Linked DNA regions of Homo sapiens: region 2 is linked to region 1. The links are contacts of gene promoters, found by promoter capture Hi-C in blood cells and fetal thymus (Javierre and others, 2016). All regions are on one chromosome and are shown on one strand. Each heading gives the region's core, a stretch centred on a gene start or on the middle of the fragment in contact. The rest is flanking DNA. Distances are from core to core; before and after follow the strand shown. Region 1 holds the start of ZBTB8OS (zinc finger and BTB domain containing 8 opposite strand). Region 2 holds the start of ZSCAN20 (zinc finger and SCAN domain containing 20).

What was found. Contacts are between HindIII fragments. The CHiCAGO score rates a contact against its expected background, and 5 or more counts as called.
Region 2: a contact is called between a fragment that was not itself captured here and the fragment with the promoter of ZBTB8OS in region 1, in 3 of 17 cell types (fetal thymus, naive CD4 T cells and non-activated CD4 T cells). The highest score is 7.9, in fetal thymus.

What each region holds. Positions count from the first base shown.
Region 1 is chr1:32,647,587-32,651,799 of GRCh38, forward strand. ZBTB8OS (zinc finger and BTB domain containing 8 opposite strand) reads right to left here and starts at 2,964. Exons shown (of 7, transcript NM_178547.5): 1 at 2,847-2,964. The coding sequence starts at 2,943. RBBP4 (RB binding protein 4, chromatin remodeling factor) reads left to right here and starts at 3,622. Exons shown (of 12, transcript NM_005610.3): 1 at 3,622-3,736. The coding sequence starts at 3,721. RefSeq lists silencers at 1-44, 3,301-3,870 and enhancers at 1,561-1,700, 2,834-3,421, 3,422-4,010, 4,171-4,213. The HindIII fragment of the contact is 3,350 bases long and covers 1-3,319 here.
Region 2 is chr1:33,470,969-33,475,181 of GRCh38, forward strand. It overlaps ZSCAN20 (zinc finger and SCAN domain containing 20), which reads left to right and starts at 1,677. Exons shown (of 8, transcript NM_001377376.1): 1 at 1,677-1,723. The HindIII fragment of the contact is 1,145 bases long and covers 1,831-2,975 here.

The DNA.
Region 1 (4,213 bases), core at 1,714-4,213:
TGCTAACATTACTGCCTGAGCTCCACTTCCTTTCAGATCAGGCACAGCATTAGATTCTCATAGGAGCTTGAACACTATTGTGAACTGCACATTGAGGGATCTAGGCTGTGTGCTCCTTATGAGAATCTAAAGCCTGATGATCTGTCATCCCCAGATGGGACCATCTAGTTACAAGAAAACAAGTTCAGGGCTCCCACTGATTCTATATTACAGTGAGTTGTATAATTATTTCATTATATATTACAACGTAATAATAATAGAAATAAAATGCACAATAAATGTAATGCGCTTGAATCATCCTGAAACCATCCTCCCCTACAACCCCCGTTGGTGGAAAAACTGACTTCCGTGAAACCAGTCCCTAGTGCCAAAAAGGTTGGGGACCGCTGGTTAATGAACTGCATTGCATAAAAACACTTTCTGCCTAGTAAGAAAAACCAACAACCCAAGACAAAAAAAAAATAACCCAAGAGAAAAAAGGGCTAAGAATATTAACATACACACCCCAGAATGGGAAATACAAATAGCTTCCAAAACAGTATAATATGTTCAACTTCACTTACAATAAGAAAAATACAGTAAGTATACTTTACAAATTAGAAAAGATAAAAAAGTATGGTAACAATTAGTAGAAGTGGGAGGAAAGAGGCACATTCACACAATACTAGTGAAAGTATAAATTGGTACAACTCCTATAGAGAGCAATTTGGCAATAACTGTCCAAGTTAAAATATCCTTTTAAAAAATGTAGGAGTCTTAGCAATGGAAACAAAAAAAACTTGGAGAACTTGATTCTACAGATTCACTTGCACATGTACAAAACAGTGGATGTACAAGTGTATTCACTGCTGCACTGTTTCTAATACCACAAGAGTAGAAATAGCCTAAACGTCCATCAACTGAAAATTGGTTAAAGCAAATGCTAGAACATCTAGGTATGTACATGTAAGAAAAAGGTAACGATGACTGCTCTACAGAGGGGGACTAGGTAGTTGAGGATGGGGGCTGCCAGAGTTACTTTTCACTGCCTATGTTACACTTTCTGAATTTCAAATCAATATATATGACCTATTAAAAATAATTTTTTTTTGAGATGGAGTCTGGCTCTGTCGCCCAGGCTGGAGTGCAGTGGTGCAATCTCGGCTCACTGCAACCTCCGCCTCCCAGGTTCAAGCGATTCTCCTGCCTCAGCCGCCCAAGCAGCTGGGATTACAGGCACCCACCACCATGCCTAGCTAATTTTTGTATTTTTAGTAGAGATGGGGTTTCACCATGTTGGCCAGGCCAGGCTGATCTCAAGCTCCTGACCTCAGGTGATCCACCCGCCTCAACCTCCCAAAGTGCTGGGATTACAGGCGTGAGCCACAGCACCAGGCCTTTTTTTTTTTTTTTTTTTTTTTGAGACAGTCTCACTCTGTTGCCCAGGCTGGAGTGCAGTGGTGTGATCTCGGCTCACTGCAGCCTCCACCCTCCTGGGTTCAAGCAATTCTCCTGCCTCAGCCTCCCGAGTAGCTGGGATTACAGGCGCCCACCATCATGCGCAGCTAATTTTTGTATTTTTAGTAGAGACGGGGTTTCACCATGTTGGCCAGGCTGGTCTGGAACTCCTGACCTCAGGTGATCCACCCACGTCAGTCTCGCAAAGTGCTGGGATTATAAGTGTGAGCCACCGCAAACGGCCTATAATATTTTAAAATTGTTTTTAAGTGAGAGAAGGGGATATGCTAGGAGGTATGCCAGCTCCAGAAAGCACATTGCCTAGAATACTATGGTAAATAAGTAGATTTTACAGAGAGGACAATGAGAAATTAATGAAAGATTTTAAGCAGATAAATAAAAGTCAGATTTGTGCTCCCCAAACCACAGCTACCTTTAGGGATGACAGCTTAACGTTTAATATAGAATTTAAGAGACAAAGATAGGTTATGTGATTTGCCTAAAGTCACTAAGCGAATAAATGGCAAAACCAGCTGGGCACTGCAGCGCGGGCTATGATCGCTCCATTGCACTCCAGCCTGGACGACAGAGCGAGACCCCATCTCTAAAAACACACACACACACACACACACACACACACACACATTTTTTTTTTTTTTTGAGACAGAGTTTCGCTCGTTGCCCAGGCTGGAGTGCAATGGGGCGATCTCGGCTCACCGCAACCTCCGCCTCCCGGGTTCAAGCGATTCTCCTGCCTCAGTCTCCCGAGTAGCTGGGATTACAGACATGCTCCACCACGCCCAGCTAATTTTGTATTTTTAGTAGAGACGGGGTTTTTCCATGTTGGTCAGGCTGATCTCGAACTTCCGACCTCAGGTGATCCGCCCGCCTCGGCCTCCCAAAGTGCTGGGATCACAGGCCTCAGCCACCGAGCCCGGCCTAAAATAATCATTTTTAAAAATCACAATCATAAATGGCAAAACCAGGTTTTTTGCTAATATGATCGAGGTGAAACATCAAGTTAGAAATCCCCTAATTAGCTTTCCGAGTCCTCTAACCTCGCACACTCTAATCTCACCGTTGGGAAATACATGGGGGTAACAACCCTGCAAACGCCTGAAAATATGGTTATCTTTAGAATTTACGAAGATAAATGTGATTAGGCACATGTGGAAGAAGTTCAAGAGACTGTAAATGAGGGAGGCCAGGTTTCGCGACTATTAAACCAGGTGGCTTTTTCCTTCAGCATCCCCAGGAGAAGTACGAACGCGACTACAACAGCCGGCACAAATGGGATCATGCCTGAAGTACCCATGGGGCACAGTAGAAAGAGCAGCAGGAAGCCGCGGGTAAGGAGAGGGGATGCCTGTGTGCTTACATGTAAAGAGAGAAGTAAGCCACCTACTCACACTCGTACTTCCTATTGACTGGCGGATACTTGGCCTTGATCGCCTTCTGTTCTTCAGTCAAATTGTAATCTCTAACATCTTCCTCTTCCTGCGCCATGACTGCAGGATTAGACACTCTACTTCCGCCCTTCATCCACCGGACTTCGGCCCGGAGTTACTACTTCCGCTCTAGACTCCGCCCCTTGGCGCACACCCTTAAAGGACCACACTCCTTTCTCGGAGTTGGCTGTTGACCTACTTTAGTCCCTACCCTGCCGCTTGGATCGCATATTTAAAAAGCCAAAACCCCATCTTCTGCGATTCCTTCATTACTAGTTCTTTCCAAAGACTAAGGAAAAACGTTGAAGGGCACCTTGAATGAAACCCGTCTGGGTCTGACTGGCGAGGTTCTTTCCCCCGCTTCACCCCCAAAATTGATAACTAGACCCGAAGGCATTCTAGATTTTTCATCTCAGTACTCTGAAAGGGTCGTAAGCTTAATAGCCTTCAAGAAAATGGCTGCCCTCTTGCCGCGGGAGTGTGCGGACCAAACCTCTCTCACGTGACCCTGACCGGGCGCAGTCCCGTCAACGCCGGCGCGCGCAATCGCTGGAAGTCGGCTCGGGGAGGCGTGGGGGGAGGGGCGGAGCGCGCGCCTCGGTCCCCGCGGAAAGCTACTCCGCGCGTCTGGATTGGTCGCGAACGCGGCTTCCCCGCCCATCCCGCCATTAGGAGCGCTCCCATTGGCTGATGTTGGCGCGAAGGTGCGCGAGTCAGCCCTCGCGCTGGGGGCGCAGGAAACAATAGAGGCCGCGCGCACAGAGCGAGCTCTTGCAGCCTCCCCGCCCCTCCCGCAACGCTCGACCCCAGGATTCCCCCGGCTCGCCTGCCCGCCATGGCCGACAAGGAAGGTGAGGGTGCCGGGGCCGACCCAGGAGGGCAGTGGGTGCCTGGGCTGAGCCGCGGCCTCGACATGGCCTAACAGTGAGGGCAGGCCCGAGTTTGCCGAGTGCAGTCCCCGGTACTGAAGGCGTGAAGAGGGAACTCCCCGCGGGGCGTGCTAACGGCTCGCCAGTTCCCTGGGACCGATTTCGGTCGCAGCTGGCGAAGCCAGCGGTGGGGCCCCCGGCCAGTGTTTGTTTCTCTTCCTGCCTCCGATATCGGTTTCTCGGCCTCTGTCCCGAGCGTGGGGACACCGCTTCCTACCCACAAGGCTCGGAGCTCGGGCCTCCTCGTCGGGCTTGTGAGTTTCGGCGCGCACGAGCGTGCTCCGAAGGCCTGGCTGGCCCCTTGGCCTGGAACGGGTAACGGAGTGTTTGGCGGGGATGGCCCGAGGAGTTTCGGCGCCGCGAAAGTGGAGAGTGTGGATGCCTCTGCCGTGGGGATTT
Region 2 (4,213 bases), core at 1,153-3,652, 820 kb after region 1:
TTGAGTAGGTCACTTCGTTTCTCTAAGTCTCATTCCCTCTTTGTAAAGTGGAGCAAACAATACCAATCTCATAGGGCTACTGTGAGACTTCAACACCAAGGAGTATTTACGGGTTGTTATTATGTTTACTGAGTAAAATCACATGAGTTATTACTACAAATAAGTTGGAACATGTTTCACAGAGAAGGAATTTAAACTGGGTCGTTAAAGCTAAGAATTCTCCTATTTTAACACTAGCCAACATGCATTGAGCTCTTACCAGATGCTAGGTATTGTCAATTTTCCCTAAGCCGCATAACCATTGGTAATAATAATAATAGCTAATGATTATGTATATTATTGTATTTTCTATTTTTTAAAATAGAGACGAGGTCTCACTTCGCTGCCCAGGCTGGTCTCAAACTCCTGGACTAAAGCGATCCTTCCGTCTCAGCCTCCCAGAGGGCTGGGATTACAGGCATGAGCCTCCGTGCCTGGACTAGCTAATGATTATTAAACACTTTCTGTGTGTCAGACATGTGTCACGCTCTTTACATACCTTCTCCCATTTATTCCTCTCAACAACTGTCTCAGGAAGAGGCAAGTATTATCATTCCCATTTTACAGCTGGGAAAATGCAGGCATAAAGAAGCTAAGTAATTTGCCCAAGGTTTCACAACGCGGGTGGTATGACCTGCATCCTTCATTTGAAAGTAAGAACTTTCAGACACAAGCAGCTTGACTTCAGAGACTTTTACCTAAATAGTCTCATTTAACCTTCATAACACCCTGTGATGTAAGTTCTCTTACATTACTTGCATTTTATAGATGAAAATTCCAAAGACAAAATAGATGGCAGTAATTTGTTCAAGGCCACACAGCTGCGAAGTAGTTGAGTTGGGATTTGGATCCATGTCTGACTACAAAGCCCCCATTCTCAACACCACATTAGATTGTTCATGCCCCAAAGTATTCACAGTGGTACAGAGCACCCGCATTTATATGAGGATTATTTTGTAATAATGATTAACATTCTTCCAACACCTAGGAAGTGCCAAGCTCTGTACTAACTGATTTACATAATAATAGCTAACAATCGCTGTGCATTATTAGGAGCCAGGCCCTGAGCTAATCGTTTTAGGTGTATTATCTCATTGAAAGTTCACAAAACTCTGTGACATGGATGCCATTACTACCCTCATTTTATGGTTGAAGAGAACGAGGTTCAGAATTCTTCCAAAGTCACACAGCTTAGCTGTAAGCTGGAAATTAAAGCTACAACTGTCCAGTTCTCTCCTGCCTATCGGGCTGGTCACCTCTAGTCATTCTCTCTTCTTATTTCTTATTGTGTCTGCTTTGATCTTTCAGGGTCTGAGGCTCTCACTTCGACCCCTCAGTAGAACTGGGCCCCCTTCTGCTCGAGTGCCCTCCCATTGGGCGGTGCTGTTATCCGGAAGCCTATGGAAAAGGCCAGGATCGCAACAGGTCCCGCCCCCATGTGTCGCGCCCGTTCCGATTTGTTCCAGTGCCAGGGTCCGTTAGAAGATGACATATCTATTGGCTGAAGACGTCTGAAAGGCAGCAAACGGAGGGGGCCGCCCCCGGCGCTCGCGCGGTTCCTTCTGGGAATTGTGGTCTCAGACGTTCCATTCCCAGGGTGGCGCCGCTCGGACTCCGCGTCCCAGCATTCCCCGCACGAGCCCGGGAGCACTTCCGCCCTGTTGTGAAGTGGGTGTCTCGGTGGGTGAGTCCGGGTGGCGGGGCGGGGGCAGCTGAGACGCAGGCTCTGGGCTGGAGACTTAGGAGGTGGTGGTGACACAGGGGGCTGGGGAAGGTGAGAGGGGAGAAAGAAGCTTATATGTGGGGGTGGAGGGTGAGGGACGGTCAAAGGATGTAGAGGCCGGAGATGGGAAGGGTCATACAGGGGTCGGGGATGAGGAGGCGATAGAGGGCCCTGGGAATGAGGAGGGCCTTAGAAGGGTCTGAAGGTGAGGGGGTTGAGGGAGGTTTTGGAGGTGGGAGAGTCATAGAAAGGTCTGGAGACCACAGAGGAAAGGATAGAGGGTCTGGGGCCCTGGCAAGAAGTGAAGAGGGCCTGAGCTTGAAGCCCGACCTTAAAAATAGTGTTTCAATCTCTACCTTCCCATCTAGAACAAGCATATCTAATTTGTTACCTCCCTAATGATTGTTACCTCTGGAACCCAGTGGATGGGACTGGCTATTGTGTTCTGCCCCAAACCTGCACTTCTTTCCTTATGTCTTATGGAAGTCAGTGGCACGATCATCCCATTTACCTACCTACCTACCTACTTACCCACTGATTCCTCTTGCATTCTTCCACGTCCAAGGATCTTCCGATCTTTAATTTCTTTAATATCTTTTCAGTCGGCCTCTTTCTTGTAGGGTTTTCGCAGAAGCCTTTTCAGTTTCCCAGCATGAACACACACATTGCACCTAGTGTGATCTGTTTCACCTACAAATCTGATTATGCCTTCTGCTTGAAAACTTTCATTGGCACCCAGCACCTGTAAAGTCCAAACACCTTGTCCTTCATAAACTCCTTTTGCAGCCTAATCTTCATGCACCTCACACTCCAGGGCTGTCAAGGTTTTCCTCGTTTCCTGGGTAGGCCATTTGGTTTTCCATCATTATATATGCTGTTCTCTCAGCTTAGAATATTCTCTCCTTGCCCTTCACCTTCTTTGCCAAGAGAACTTCTTTAACTTAAAAAAATTTCAACTCTTACTTTGCTCAATTCCCTTAAGCAAATTAAGTCACCCCCAACCCTCAGCTCCCATAACTTCTCCTATTACCACATTTGATCATAATTATCTGTGAAGTGTGTGTCTCTTCCATTAGACTGTGAACATCTCCAGGACAGGAACAGTGTCTCAATCACCTCTGTTTCCCCATTGCCCAGTCTAGAGCAGTAAACACTTGATGTAAAGCAGTAAATACTTGATGTATGTATGTGTGAATGAAGACCATGCAGGGTAAGCTTTGCTATACCAGCCTTGAAGACTTCTATTGCCAGTGGATTTCCAGGGCAGGAGCTTTAGTCTTCCTCTGCCTGGCAAGGCTATCTGCTGGAAGCTGAAGCTGATTCATTGCCAATGGGAGTTTAAGCCAGGGGTGACAAATACATGGAATGTGTGCTGCCAGTGCCCCTTCCTGTGTCCCTGGCAGTCATGGCTAATTGGTTGGTTCTCAGCACATATTCACACTGTACTCAGAGCCCTCAGCACACTACTCTAGGCAGCCACTTCCAGTTGATTGAAGTTTCTGCTTTAAATGAAACCTATTTGCTCTCCCTGGCTTAAGCCCTTATGTGTGAGGTCAGGTCAGACTGCTTTAAGCCATAGCTTGGACTGTCAGCCAAATGGGCCTGACAGCCTTTAAGAGTTCCCAGTTTTTTCTCTTTGGAGGTCACAGACCAGTCTTGGCCTTTCCTGTGGAACTGGAGAGCATCTTCTCTTCCCTTTTCACTGAGTGGGCTCCTCATGACCACGTTCATACTTACTGCCCTAGGAGTCAAGATGCCCCTCAGCTTCCCTGTGTTTGTAAAGACATCTTGATTTTGATGGCAGTCAGCACTTATCCCTCATGACCTGGGAGGCTCTGTACTCTTTCTAGGTCTTTCTGGATATTGGAAGAGAGCTTTGAGATCACTTAGCTGAATCTAAGTGGCAAAGCGACAGCCCATGCTGAATGAAGTCCACCATCATGCTTTATTTAATCTCATAGTGTGTGAAAAAATTTTGAGTTGGTTACCAACATTTAAAAATCCAGAGTGCTAGTTTCTTTTGGAAAAATCAGCAGGCTTAGGAATATTCTGGGCATATGTTCCCCTGGCACTCTATAGTTGGCTGTAGTGCCCACCCAGTTCATTTCAGTCATTGACTCATTTACATTGCTAGGTCCTTATACCCATTTAAACTTGTAGCCACTGACTCTAGTCTCCCTTCTCCCTTGCTCTACCCCATCATACTAATTGGGGAACCTAGGGCAACTGCTGAGTAAGATCAGGCTGTAAGCTGCAGCCTAGCTAGGCAGCCACAGGGGCTACATAACTTGTCCAAAGTAACACAGCTGATTAGTGGCAGGAGTGGAACTAGAACCCCAGTCTGCTCACTCCTGCCTTAATGTTCTTTCCATTCTCCCGTACTGTCATCTTAAGAGTTTGGATGACTAGCACACATAGAGGAGGCTATAAGACATGGTTAAGAAAAATGAT